Regions from separate parts of the Homo sapiens genome. Here all the other regions are linked to region 1. The links are contacts of gene promoters, found by promoter capture Hi-C in blood cells and fetal thymus (Javierre and others, 2016). All regions are on one chromosome and are shown on one strand. The core of a region is centred on a gene start or on the middle of the fragment in contact, and the rest is flanking DNA. Distances in the headings are between cores, read along the strand shown. Region 1 holds the start of DPY19L1 (dpy-19 like C-mannosyltransferase 1). Region 2 holds the start of CDK13-DT (CDK13 divergent transcript). Region 3 overlaps PDE1C (phosphodiesterase 1C).

Region 1 (4,837 bases), core at 1,623-4,122:
GTGGCAGGCACTGGTCTACAGATACATATAGAAATTAACTGCATTCCCATTCTCTGCTCTTGTGGATCTCGTTGTACTAAGGATAAAATGAAATCTGGCACATAATCTTCCATGACTGTTCTGGTTTCCATTCCTCCACCCTTCCTGTGTGAAATGCCTCCCTTTTGGGAGGGGGCACGAGGAGTTGCCTACTATTTTATCCAGGCCTAAGGACCCATGAGATGGGCAACATTTGTAAAGCATCTGTGGAAAGCAGGAAACCATTCAGGCACATCAACTGCCCAGAGAGCTGAGAAGCTTGAAGCCCAGCAGGCCTGGCTTAAAGATCACGTGGCTGTTCTTGCTCTCCCGCTCAGAGTGGCATTCTCCCCTTGCTATACCCCAACTTGGAATGTCAACTTCAGGTTCTGGGAGGACAGAAGTTTGCCACTCTCCTTAAACGTCATCCACTACTTTGAACACTTATTGAGCAACTACCAACATCCAGACAATTTGAACATTCACTGAGCAACTACTTGGATATATGTAATTGTTAGATGCTTTACACACATTGTCTTATTTTTTACAAACCTGTGAACTAGATGTTTTTGTTGCCTCCATTTTAAGAATGAAGAAATCCAGACTCAAAGAGGTATAATACCTTGGTCAAGGCTGGTATGGGTCAATGTAGTGGCTGCAAACTGGATCTAAATTGACCGTGTTTAAGAAAAAAACAAACAAAACAAAAAAACCAAAAAACTAATACCTCACACTGCCCCTCTCCGCATGGTTGCCAAGCCGAGAAGGGGAACTGACAAGCACTTGTGGAACTGCATTCATTCACTCACTCATTCAACAAGTGTTTTCCTGGTACAAACGGTACCAGCTTAAGGGAGGCAGTTCCTGAATTCAGGGCCTATCACATAAAGTAGACACACAGCAATCTAATAATTCAAATGTTGAACCTCTTTTTCCATGCGTCTTTCTAATCATTAAAAAAAATCCATCATTTGTATTATTTTTATTTATTTATTTTTTTGAGATGGAGTCTCGCTCTGTCGCCCAGGCTGGAGTGCAGTGGCGTATCTCAGCTCACTGCAACCTCCGCCTCCCGGGTTCAGGCGATTCTTCTGCCTCAGCCTCCCAAGTAGCTGGGACTACAGGCGCCTGCTACCACGCCTGGCTAATTTTTGTATTTTTATTAGAAACAGAGGTTCACCATCTTGGCCAGGCTGGTCTTGAACTCTTGGCCTCGTGATCTGCCCGCCTCGGCCTCCCAGAGTGTTGGGATTACAGGCGTGAGCCACGGTGCCCGGCCAGTTATTCGTATTATCTTTAATAGGCATTGAATTAGCTTTCTTTTAACTGAATACATTCAACATTAATCCCAGAGGTAGCATTGAGTTCAGCTGACACAATGTTTCAGAATCCAAGCCTTCTGCATCCTACTTTCAACCATTATTTTTTAAACCAGTGTATAAAAATAGTTGTTCTTTGCTCCAATAAAGACATTGGAAAATCCAAATTCATAAACTAGACAGGGTATGAGGGAGTATTAATTAGCATGGCAAACACCCTCCCTTTACAAAATAATCCACTGTCTCTTAAAAAGGCTAACAATGAACGAATGCTGGTATTAGTAAAGAAATCACTGGGCAAAGAAACAAAGAGCGAGAAAGCCACGTGAAGTCCCTGGAATTACAATAGAGATAAGCAGAACGATGGGCCTTGATTTACAACATTGGGACTTAAAGACAACTTTTTGGAACAAGCCACTGGGCACGGCCAGGAAAGGAACCTCCCAGTTGTAATCCATGCTGTTGTAAGACTGTGTGCAAAGAATGCAGGGGTGGAGGGAGAATTGGGATCTACCTGGGTTTCTAAATTTTCCCGGGTTTAATTTACTCGTGCATTCTGCTATGTAAAAGAAAACATATTTTCGACTAAAATCTCCTATCTTATCAACGCCAAGTTTTCCTGCTTCCTATTAAGCAACAAGGTTACAGCAAGTGTAACAAACTGAATGTACTTATTGATGATCTTTCCTGCTCCAGCCAATCCATCCTATCACCTTCAGCCTGGCTCCTACCCTGGTCTTCAGTTTACACTTGTGCCTCGTCCCTTATCAGCTCCCCATGAGATTCCAGGCTGCTATTTTAATACTCTGTTACTATCTTAAATCGGGTCGCACCCGTTCTTCTTGTCGGTGAGTGAGGGGCTGCGCTCCAAGTTGCGCGACCACACTGCGGGGAGTAAACGGAGACGGTGACTTGATTGCCACCCGCGCGCTTCACATCGGTGGGGCCGACCAGGCGCCCAGGGCGCACGCACAGCGCCCCTAAGTGGCCGCTCCGGGCGCCTTCTCCCTGCCCCGCCGCGTCTCGCCTGCGCGGGCTCCAAGCGCAGCCTTAACAGGCTCCGAAACTTGAATCAGCGCCCCGATCCCGAGAGGGCTCTTCCTTCGGCCCCATCACTCCCACAATGGAAGGGCGGCCGCCTCCGGAAGGCCGTCCGCCCCCGCGTCCTCGCACCGGCCGAGCCCCGCGCGGGCGCCGAAGAGGTGTGGGTAGCCGGGCGCCAGAGGGGTCGGGCCCCGCCTGCGCCGGAAGTCCGCGCGTGCGCGCTGGCCGGCCTGGAGCGCGCGTCCGGCGCAGAGGGGCGGCGGGGGCGGGGCCGCGGCCGCTCGCAGGGTGTCCCCGCCCCCGCCCCCCGGCGTTCCGCGGTCGCCGTGACAACCGGAGCGGCGGCAACGGCGGCGGGCTAGCAAGTCCGGCGCCGCCTCCCGGCGGTACTGCCAGCCAGGCAGCAGCCGCCCGGCCTCCACGATCTCCCCGCCTCCCGGCCCGCGGGGAGGGACGAGCCCGCCCTCCACCCTCCGCCCGCCCGCCCGCTGGAGAGTGAGCTGCGCCCAGCCGCCCAGCCAGCCCGCCGTTCTCTGGCCGCCGTCCGGGCGCGCGCAGCGAGCGGGCGCGACTATGCCAAGATGGTCCTGCAGGCGCGGAACAAGCACCGGGAGGCGGCTCCCAAGCCGCCCCAGCCACCCCGCGCCTCACAGTCGCCGCTGAGGGGGGCGTCGGACGTCGGCGCCGGGGAGCCGGGGCCCGAGCGCGCGCCCCTGTCCCCGGGGCGCAAGGGCGCCGCGGGCAGGAAGGGGCCCCGCGCCGAGCCCGGCGCGCCGCCCGCCGGGGGCGGCCTTGGGGGGCGCCTGGCCGCCCGGCTGCGCTGGGCGCTGGGCCTGCGGCGCGCGGGGCGCGGCCGGACCTGGACCACGCTCCTGTTAGGTGAGCAGCCCTAGCGCCGGCGCCGCCGGGACGCGGAACTTTGAGGCGCTGGCCCCCTCCCCTCCCCTCCCCTCCCCTTCCTTCCCCTCTCCTCCCGCTTCCGCCGCGCCGAGCCCCGCCAGCCGGACCAGCCAGTTTGCAGCCCTCTCCGACTTTTTCTCTGGGACATTCTTACCTTCTCCTCCCCGCAACTCCCTGGCTCAGCTCTCCTCGCACGCTTCCCACCCGCGCTCTGCCTGGGCTTTAAAAGAATGGCCCGGGGATCAACAGCTGCCCGGCCTGGCCGCGGGCAGCAGGTCTGCGCTAACGAGACTTGAGCGCTGCTGATTGGTACGACTGGCCGCCTTCCCGTTATCTCGGCCTCTGACCGCCAGGATGGTTTGCTTTGGCTTGGAAACGATTCCGTGGAGCTCAAAGCAAACGCACGTTCCATGTCGTAGAGAGTTGCTTAAACTTATAATTAAATTTTAGCGTACTTTTTTCTTCCTGGCCGCAAACGCCGCTGGTGGCACTTTATTTGTGATTCCCCTCGACACGTCACTTTCTAGGTTGTGTTGTGTTTGGGGCGCCCGAGCCTTAATCCTCCCTGCTGCCCTTGGAACCTTTGGTGAGGAGGGCTCTCCTCCCCTCCCTCTGCCATTTACCAAATGGATGATGTGTAATGATGTGCTGAAAAAAAAAAACAAAGTTGACGCATTCGTATGTTTCGGACTGACTTCAGGTTTCCTCTGTTTCCTGGTTGAATTTTGATAAGGCAAGTTGTAGCAGTTTGGATAACAGGCCTAATTTTTCTAAGTCAACTAGTGAAATGCTGTTACATTGCTTTTTTCTATATGCCTCAGTGGGCTTTTCGCTACTGAACTATTTAATTACTGTTGATTTATCCCTTAGTATATTTTCAGATTCCCTTGGTGACTCAAAGTTCCCTTAGCCAGGAGTTGGGGTCCAGTATAAGTCAAGGAATAGGACACAGCAAATTGGCTTCCCCTGAGATCACAGCCACAAATAAAAGCCACTCAGTCATAAAAAGCCAGTCATCTCTGTATGTTTTAATGGGCTCAAGAAGGTTGTTCCTAGGGTACTTTTTTTCCCCCCATTGCCGATTCAAGCCTAGAAAAACCAAGTTTGTTTTTCTTTGTTTGTTTGTTTGTCTGTTTCCAGCACATTTCCCCCCGCCCCCTTTTTTTTTATCTCAGTAGCAAGCTTGAAAAGCTGGCTAGTATGCAGGTTAGAAAAGCTCACCTTGGGGAGGCAGCACGATACAGTGGATGAGGCAGAGCCTTCAGATCTAGTACACAGCGGTTCAGTTTGGTTTAAGTTTCAGGTTCCTTTGTGAGTCTTTCGTTCTCTGCTAGTGGGGGGTTATCACATGGCGAATTTACTCCACAGGGATCCACAGGATCTGTTAAGGATCATAACTAAAAGGTGTGGGTGATACATGGGAAGATACTTTGTGTTTAGAGCACTTGACACATTGTAGTTGTTGTAATAAAAGAAAGTGTGTGATGCTGATTTGAGATCTGATGACAGAATGGAGTTGCATTTTTATTGAATGACTAAACATTAACCACTTTGTA
Region 2 (4,837 bases), core at 645-3,144, 4.9 Mb before region 1:
TCTCCGCTCCTCGTCAGGAGGAGGGAGAGCAACGGGACTTGCTGGTTGGGCCCTAACCTCCACAACCCCTCCTTCTCGCCTCGCTCTTTCGGCTTTTCCCCTCAGCCCTGACGTACGACCGGGAGCGCGCCCGCAATTCACGCTCAGAGAAAGCCGAAGATGAGAGGTGGCCGGGGCAAGAGAGGCGGGAACAAAGTTACCGCGCACTGGCGTGCTCGCTCCCGCCAGGGGCCGGCAGGCCGCACCGGAAGTGGCATGATGTAGAAACCGCTCGGCTTCCGGCGAGGGTGGGACTCCGTGTGAAGAAGGGTTAAAGAAAGGAGAGGATTCGTGTGCCGCCCACTGCTGTTGCTTGAGACTCTGCCCGTGGTGGCGCGCCTGTCGTGCTTGTTGCTTGCGTCCAGCGCGCAGTGCCGGTTCCGGCTCTGCAGACGCCGCACTGCCTGCCTGTTGAGCGAAAGGTCACAGTGAGAACAAGTGTTTCTGGAGACTGCGAGGGAAATAATGCTGTTGGTGGCCTTCTGGAGTAGGCAGTTACCCCCCGTGTACCTTCAGTCAAGCCCTGGGAGTGGAACAGCTGCGAAAGGAGAGAAAACACCCCGCAAAACAGGGTGGAGATGGCGTTGGTTTAACTTGTCTCACGTACGCCAAAGTTCGAGGCCCCATTTTTTTTTTTTTTTTTTTTGAGACTGAGTTTCGCTCTCGTTGCCCAGGCTGGAGTGCAATGGTGCGATCTCGGCTCACCGCAACTTCCGCGAGGCCCCTTCTTATCCTAAAAAACACACTTGGGAATCACAGCTCAAGCTTCGGTAACACTATTTACTTTAAAATAAAAATTTTTAAAGCTTTAAATCAATACAGGAAATAAGTGGAATGTTAAAAGGAACTACTGAAAATTCCAAATTCTCAGGAGGCTTGAAATAAAAACATCTTGTGCGAATGAGGACTGCCCTCTTAGTACTTCACCCACTTTCACCTTCATATCTAAACCTTTGGGGTTGCCAAACATAGCCATATAGTGACCTCACATCTCATTTCTTGCCTTAGAATTGCCCTTCAGTTACAGACTAAGCACTCGGGATAATTAGATTAAAATGTAAATGGCTTATTGGCTTTTAGAATGGTTGGAAACGCAAGCTAACCCTGTGCAGTGGCACACGCCTGTAGTCCCAGCTACTCCGGAGGCTGAGGCAGGAGGATCTCTGGAGCTCAAGAGTTCGAGGCTGGAGTGAGCCATGACCGTGCCACAGCACCCCAGCCTGGCCAATCAGCAGGGCGAGGCCCTGCCTCTAATAAAAGAAAAAGCTAAGCCGTCTGTTCAATGACTAAATGTAGTAACCCCTTTGAAAATTCATTTGTTCAGATCATCAGTTGGTTTAGTTCTTAAACACTTGGTATCTATCCATCGTTAATACCTTAGTGTAAATTATTTTAATCAGTTTGACATCACAGTATCACAGACTGGCCTGATTTAAGCTAAGATCAGACTTCACTGACCGAGTACAAAGGATGTTGGTTTGCTGAAGGATAAAGGAGGAGGCAAAGGAATAGGTAATCTTAAAGTCAGAGCATTTCCCAGGAGGGCAGGCCTGGGTGGGCAACACCATGGGATGGGCATTGGGAAACTGAATAGAAAAATAGGGGGCAGGGTTCCTAAAACAAATTTCTGGTTGACAGTATTGTTGAGTGAAGGTCCTGTAGCCAGCCTCCTACCAAAGACTGTTTAGCAAGTGGCTTTTTCAGAAACATGTAGGATCAACTTGTTCCATCGTCCTACGTTAGATAGACTGGAATAACAGAACAAAGAGAGCAAATAAGAGGTTTAGCTTGCAGCTCCCCTCGTGTACAACCAGTTCCACTTGAGAATGTCATCTTCTATCATATATTTTCAAAGAAAACTTGATCCATAGTAAATGGATAATTCCCATGTGTAAGTGTATTAAATGGAGAAGAAGGGAAAAAAAGTAAATGGATAGTTCCCAATCCAGGGTGCAAACAAAAAACATGTACTAAAATATTTTTACTGTGGTTCTACCACCCACGTTTCCTCAAAGATTCTACCTTTGGTGGGGGAGGTTGAATGAACATTTTGAGCTCAAGATACCTGCCCACGTGGTTGGAAACACTAATAACTAATAGGATTCAAACTCCAAAAAATGGGAAGGACCTTTGAATTAGAAGCCGTCTGTTTCTATAAGCCTGTCTGCTTGCCTGAATATTAAAGAGATTTGAAATTCCCATTTACGACTATATTTTTGTTTATTACTGCTTGTGTGTGGGGGGGTGGGGAGTTCGTGTTTTGTTTTGTTTTTGTTTTTGTTTTTTTTGAGACAGAGTTTTGCTCTTGTCGCCTAGGCTGGAGTGCAGGGGTGCAATCTTGGCTTACTGCAACCTCCGCCCCCCAGGTTCAAGCGATTCTCCTGCCTCAGCCTCCCGTGTAGCTGGGATTACAGTTGCCCGCCACCATGCCGAGCTAATTTTTTTGTATTTTTAGTAGAAACGGGGTTTTGTCATGTTGAGCAGGCTGGTCTCAAACTCCTGACCTCAGGTGATCCGCCCGCCTCGGCCTCCCAAAGTGCTGGGATGACAGGCGTGAGCCACTGCACCAGGCCCCAGACTCATCTTTTATGCAGTTCAGAGGCCCACAGTGTTAGCACTTTTTTTTCAGAAGTGCAATATTGCTTCTATGTGCTGGGGAGTGGGAATTCTTGCTGGTTCAGTAAAGCTGAGGGATACGTATTTATAAAACAGTAATGGTGGAGTAAACTTCTAGCTGTCTTCCTAAATGGATTTTCCCTTGATTACCTAAGTAACAGTATCCTGGGTTTGATGGGGGTAAATGTGCCTAGCTAAAAACTACATCTCCCAGTATTCCTTGCAGATAAGACGTGATCATTGGCTCCTGCCAATGAAGTGAAGTGGAAGTTGTTGGGCGAAGCTTATGGAAATGATTCTTAAAAAATGGAAGGTCAGGGCCGGGCCCGGTGGCTCACGCCTATAATTCCAGCACTTTGGGAGGTCGAGGCGGGCAGATCACCTGAAGTCGGGAGTTCAAGACCAGCCATGACCAACATGGAGAAACCCCGTCTCTACTAAAAATGCAAAATTAGCCCAGTGTGGTGGCGCATGCCTGTAATCCCAGCTACTCGGGAGGCTGAGGCAGGAGAATCGCTTGAACCCGGGAGGCAGAGGTTGCAGAGGCTGCGGTGAGCCCAGAGTGCACCATTGCACTCCACCCTGGGCAACGAGAGCGAAACTCCATCTCAAAAAAAAAAAGGAAGGTCAGTTTCGCTGACCTGTACCTTCTGCCCCTCACTCTTACTTCTTACTTTTCTCTACATCTGGAACTCAAATGCAATACTGGAGTTTGAGCAGCTGTCCCATGACAACAAAGGAATAAGCACAGGCTAAGGATGGTGAAGTGAAAGGAAAATAGAAAGACGTGACTCCTCGGGGGCATTATGGATCCTTCAAACCAACCCTAGACTAAAAAAGGAATAATTTGTTTAAGCCACTGCTATTTTCAATTATATTACAGCCAAATTAAGTTGCTAAATATTACCATGTGACCCCATGTCCTCATTCCATTCCATGGTAGGTATCATTAATTAATGGCAGCACTCCTTCCTGCTCACCCTAAATGTAGCCTCAGAATCCCTCAGACACGGTGATGCAGTCATCCATTACCAATAGATCAGGGATGGTACTAGCATTAAACTTATTTTTCATGTTGTCCTAAAATAATTTTCGTGATTTTTGGGGAGTTGGTTTTTCCAAAAACTTAAGATTCATGTCCTGGCCCCAAACTACATTTTTTTTTTTCATACGGGGTGTCTCTGTTGCCCAAGCTGGAGTACAGTGGTGTGATCTCAGCTCACTGCAACCTCCACCTCCCAGGTTCAAGCAATTCTTTTGCCTCAGCCACCCAAGTAGCTGGGATTACAGATGTGCGCCATCACGCCTGGCTAATTTTTGTTTTAGAGACGGGGTTTCACCCTGTTGGTCAGGCTGGTCTTGAATTCCTGACCTCAAGTGATCCACCTGCCTCGGCCTCCCAAAGTGCTGGGATTACAGGCGTCAGCCACCGCACCTGGCCAAATATTTTTTATTCTTTAATTTTACAAGAATGTGTAGGTCCTCTTAGGAGATAAATATTCATGAATATTTGGAAGTTCAACTAGATAACAAGAGTATTTCAAGTTACTAATTACATGAACAAATTTGAGAGAAACAAACATGAACAATTCATCTGTGTTTTGTTAAAATTTCTCATAAGTAGAATCATTAGCATCTTAAAATATAATGCTGATGACGATATAGGTCACAGGAAATCTTTTCTACCAGAACTTTTTTTTTTTTTATTTTTGAGACAAAGTCTTGCTCTTGTCCCCCAGGCTGGAGTGCGATGGCATGATCTCGGCTCACTGCAACCTCCGTCTCCCAGCTTCAAGCGATTGTCCTGCCTCAGCTCCCCCGAGTAGCTGGGATTACAGCCGCCTGCCACCACGCCTGACTAGTTTTGGTATTTTTAGTAGAGACAGGGTTTCACCATGTTGACCAGGCTGGTTTCAAACTCCTGACCTCAGGTGATCCACCCGCCTCGGCCTTCCGAAGTGCCGGGATTACAGGTGTGAGCCACCGCGCCCGGCCCATTTCTACCAGAACTTTTTAACTGGCAATATAAGTCTTATTTTGTTTACAGAACATTACAAAAAAAGGATAAAAATCAGCATTTAAGAATTGATTCACTCACATTTATGGTCTGTTGATTTTCAACGAGGTGCCAAGACAATACAATGGGGAAGAATAGACTTTTCTTCAACAAATGATACAGGGA
Region 3 (4,837 bases), core at 1,315-3,814, 3.2 Mb after region 1:
GGTGGGAAAAGAAAGCAGTTTAGAGCAATAATAAGAAAGCCTAATGGTGGTTCGGGACTATATTACAGCAGCCTAATTAAAATGATTTATAACTGCACAGAAAGTCTCTTTCACTTCCCCTTGTTTATTGAGTAACAGCTCACGTCAGCCATTACTCCAGATACAACCCATGGGAAATTACTTAATGGATTTTGCTCAGGCAACATCATCAAACAAGCATGTGTCACTGTCCCAGCCCCCTTCTTTGTGGAGTGCCCAGGATATCTTCCAAGTTAGAGCTGAAGGTTGTTGGTGAAGGAGGGGTTTTCAAGGTTTGGGCACCCACTGGCAGTGACAGGATCTTCTAATCTTTGCCCTCTGTTGAGATGACTTCCTCCCACAGCCTCCCCATCCCTGGCTGAGAACAGGAACCATCATGGGCTGCTGGTTAGCAACCAGCAAAGGGAACCATCTCCACGACTTCCAGAAGACATCCTGGTGTTGCTGTAGCTGTGGGTAAAGCTCCAGTTCAGAGCAACCTAGAGGGCTTAAAAAGCATGCATTAAGAGTGTGGGGGCTCATTGAGGGAAGAATGAACTAGAAGGAACTAGTTTGACTACAGTGCTCAAGATCCTTGAGTCCATCTCTGGCTTCATTAAAATAGGGAAAAGCCAGTATTTGGACTGTTTTGTGGGACCTCTGAAGGATTTCTTCTCTTTTGGTGGTGGAAGAGGTGATGACCATGTCCTGCACTTAAAATCCTCCTGTTTGGACCCTGGCCAGAGTAGACTCCCCTGCTCCTCAATTCTTCCACCTAGTGTGTATTAGTCTGTTTTCACACTGCTGATAAAGACATACCCAAGACTGGGTCATTTATAAAGGAAAAGAAGCTTAATGGACTCACAGTTCCACGTGGCTGGGGAGGCTTCACAATCATGGTGGAAGGTGAAAGGCACATCTTACATGGTGGTGGCAAGAAAGAATGAGAACCAAGCAAAAGCGGTTTTTCCTTATGAAGCCACCAGACCTCGTGAGACTTATTCATTACCACAAGAACAGTATGGGGGAAACTGCCCCCATGATTCAATTCTCTTCCACTGGGTTCCTCCCACAACACATGGGAATTATGGGAGGTAAAATTAAAGATGAGATTTTGGTGGGGACACAGCCAAACCATATCACGGTCCATCCCATTTCAGAATTAAGAATGAGAGGGAACCTGAAGAGTTTATTGACTTCTAGCTTAGCTTAGTATTTGTCAAATTCCATTGCAAGTATGTGGTTTGTAGAATATATTACAGCCCCCAATAGTCCTGAATCATGCTTAGATAATCAGTTCTTTATAAATTCATAGGCCAAAGGCATTTAGAAATGGAAATAGTAAACAGAAGTCTGAAATCTAAAACTTGAACTTCATAGAGAAGTTGCAAATACTATAGTTGAGGGCTTGGCAGTTATGCCAAGAGGGAGATCCAGGTGCATGGTTGTGGCAGATGTGAGTTCAGGGTGGGGTATGAAATGTATGTGTGGGCAGTCCATACCCCTTAACATAGATGGAATGGCCTGTGTTTGTCTAACTGGCTGCAGGAACCTCAAGAAAAAAACTTAAATTTGGAAAACATCCTCAATCATTTGGTGAGTGGGATATTCAGCAAATTTTACAAATTGGACATTTAGTGAATGAATCTTTGATGAAGTTGTCTACTTTCAATAATAGTAGCCCCTTCATAATGGGGCTATTAGAAGATTTAATAAAATGATGCATGCAAAGCATTTAGCATACTGCCTGGCACAAATAAAGTAAACAAGAGTAAATCCTGTCCCTCATACACATTCCCTGGAGGCCCAGCTCACTCCAATTATTATTGGGATCTTTTGGCTTCAATAAGTACCAGTATTTGAGTGAGAATGTGTTCTTGGTTTTATGCAGGCTAAAAAGAAAGCTTCCATTAGTAAGACTGGTAAGAAAATATCCAACACTTGAAAATAAGGCTGGGTGAAGAGGCCCCTGACCTTTTCATGTAATACTGGCATATTGTTGAACACACATGCCCAGGGATTATTAAATTATTTTAGATAGGGATGCAGCACTGTTATACTGTAAAGAACCAGAGAGAAAATATTTCTGGCTTTGCCTGTCTCTTTGCAACTATTCAGCTCAGCTGTTGCAGCATGAGAGCAGCCAAGGACAATAGGTAAATGAGTAAGTGTGGCCATGTTTCAAGAAAATGTATTTGCCATAATCGATGGTGGGCACCATTGACCCAGGGGCCTTAATTTGCTGAATGCTACTCTTGAAGAACATGACTGTGTTTAACTTTACTTACTATTTGATTCAAGCCTAGGTACTGTGAAGTTATATGCTAATTTATAGATTTTTGACTGAGAGAGAAGATAACCCCAAACGTTATGGTTTTATTGCCCTGTAGGATATACCCAGTTTTGTCTCTAACTTAGCAAATATATTTTCACGTGTTTCTAAAATACCTGTCAATACCCAGCTCCAGTACTCTTGGAATCCTCTTACTATTCCCTCATAAGTGGGTTAAATACATTTTTGACACGTGTTCTAAGAATAGCATTTTACAACTTTTACAAACTACATTTTGACAAGATCATTTATTAAAATACCATTTCTAGCTCTGTTTTAGAATAATAATAACTGTATTGAGTGATATGCCTTCTAATTTATCCAAAATGCCTATAAGGTAGGTATTAACATACCCATTTTACAGATAGGAAAACTGAAGCACAGAGAAGTTAAATAGCTATTAATTGGTAGAACTTACAGTTAGCTCGGGTTTCTCCTCACTCCACAGCTTAACAGTAAATCTTAACTGCTTCTCTTAGAAGATAAGCACATAACTTAACTACAACTCTGTTTAACAAGAACTTTCAGCCTCAATTTCTGCATCACAATCCAATTTCCAGGACCTAACGTGATTACAAAAGATATTTACACTCAGACACATACACTCTTATGACTATAAAATTATGCTGCACTTTTTCAAAACTTGGCAGACTTAAAGATGTTTATAACAACCCCCTCAGCTGCATACATATACTGTTTGTCATGTTTATTACTTTCAGGTGACTTCAAAGATGGTAAAAATAAGACAGACAAGAAGGATCACTCTAACATCGGAAATGATTCAAAGAAAACAGATGGTAAGAGTATTATTCTCATTACATTTTTCCATAAAATGTGCAGTTTAATGTAAGCTTGTTAGAATCATACCCAAAATTGAAATAGTGGTTGTGAATATATTCTTATATCCTGAAAAAAACCCTTCACTATATTTAAAGGGTACTATTATCCCTTTATCAATAATTTATAAATTATTGCTGTATCTCTTCCCCTTCACCCCACTTTCTCCATCACAAATGTTTTCTATACCCTTTCTTTTCCTACTTGCCATTTTTCATCTTAAACATCATAAAAAGTTTATTTTAGACTTGCTGATCAGACAGCTAGAATGGAGTATCATATACTGCTAATGTATTTATAAGTTTTTTGATGGGGAATCATGCAGCATAAATAAGAAATGTTCCATGTTTTATGTTTTCATGTTTTTTTTCCTTGAACTAGTTCTTATTTTTGTTTAAAACAAAAACAAAAACAGGGGTCTTTATAGTGCTAATGTTGGGAGGCAGCATATATGGTTGTAAAATACAGTTTTGCCAGCAAGAACAAGTCCTAAAGGCAATGACAATGCAAAACGCAAGATTAACAACATTTTACTGTTTCTAAAACCTGAAAGTTCAAATTATATTACCCTTCACACTTTGAACTATAAGATTGAAACACCTGCCCTGGCCTTTTACATAAACTTCATTGTTTCAGCTATCACACAGGTTCATTACTAGTTATCCCCTCATACACAGACATCATATTAAGCTAAAAATTAAAGTTTCCACGGAGTGGTTTTTGAGAGAATCCCAGACTCTCTAAATCATACCTCCCTGGAGACATCATATTTGATGCTAAACTCTTCTTTGAATCATTTGGTTAGAATACCTTTGAAGAACAAATGCTGGGTAACCAGGTGGAAGAGTAAGAATAAATTGGAACGTAATTCTTTGCACATCTATTATAAAGGAAGCAGCCCCTTTAGCTTTCAGCCCTAAGCTGTTATGACATGCTGTCTTTGCTTGCATGCATGAAAACCGTTCTCAAACTTTTTCTAAAAAGACAATGCAAATAATTAACTCCAGGTGTCTTATTACATAATACCTGGGGAACACATACCTGCAATTTTTTTTTTTTTACCAATGTGCTTATGCAAATGGAAATCACTTACCTAATGAGTGTACCCTTCTTGAATAATTGTGACTAAGAAGTAAATTACACAGAACAAAATAGAATTTAGAATGACAGTCTCTGAGCCAGACTCTATTATAGGTAAGGTTTGTTTAAATACCAGAGGCTCTTTGCCAGCCATCAATACCAAATCAAGGCAACCAAAGCCAGAAAATGTACAGTGGAGGAACGCTGTCAACTTCAAACCCAGAACCCAGACACTTTCTCCATCCTGTATCCAACTATTGGCCCACAGCTTCCTGTTAAATTTCTATAGCATAAAAGCCCAGAATAAATCAAGTCCCAAATTTTTCGTATGCCATTTTGAATCTTGTTGCATTTGTATATTGTGGTACAAACATCTGCTATAATGATGTCATGTGGGCATTGTGGATTATATTTTATCACCTTCATAAAGCCTTTTTAACTGCGCCCTTTGTAACTGAATCATACCCAAGTATTTAAAAGAATTAAACAGGTTTTTTTGGGGGGAGGGGGGAAGTGATAAAATAGATTTTATGTTCTATTGTGCAAATAAGTGTAAAGTTTGATTGTTTA

The links. Contacts are between HindIII fragments. The CHiCAGO score rates a contact against its expected background, and 5 or more counts as called.
Region 2: a contact is called between a fragment that was not itself captured here and the fragment with the promoter of DPY19L1 in region 1, in 1 of 17 cell types (monocytes). The highest score is 6.4, in monocytes.
Region 3: a contact is called between a fragment that was not itself captured here and the fragment with the promoter of DPY19L1 in region 1, in 1 of 17 cell types (M2 macrophages). The highest score is 5.1, in M2 macrophages.

The regions. Positions count from the first base shown.
Region 1 is chr7:35,035,520-35,040,356 of GRCh38, reverse strand. DPY19L1 (dpy-19 like C-mannosyltransferase 1) reads left to right here and starts at 2,872. Exons shown (of 22, transcript NM_001366673.1): 1 at 2,872-3,260. The coding sequence starts at 2,963. LOC105375228 (a long non-coding RNA gene) reads right to left here and starts at 3,571. Exons shown (of 3, transcript XR_001745162.3): 1 at 3,436-3,571. RefSeq lists an enhancer at 2,033-2,262 and silencers at 2,313-2,982, 3,013-3,182. The HindIII fragment of the contact is 4,166 bases long and covers 300-4,465 here.
Region 2 is chr7:39,944,924-39,949,760 of GRCh38, reverse strand. It overlaps CDK13-DT (CDK13 divergent transcript), which reads left to right and starts at 342. Exons shown (of 1, transcript NR_158201.1): 1 at 342-2,240. RefSeq lists enhancers at 1-136, 898-947, 137-1,056, 1,078-1,267, 2,717-3,011 and 2 more. The HindIII fragment of the contact is 2,093 bases long and covers 848-2,940 here.
Region 3 is chr7:31,807,341-31,812,177 of GRCh38, reverse strand. It overlaps PDE1C (phosphodiesterase 1C), which reads left to right. Exons shown (of 18, transcript NM_001191057.4): 16 at 3,070-3,147. Among named protein-coding and RNA genes, the nearest start is that of PPP1R17, 120 kb to the right of the region's middle. RefSeq lists an enhancer at 219-318. The HindIII fragment of the contact is 1,279 bases long and covers 1,925-3,203 here.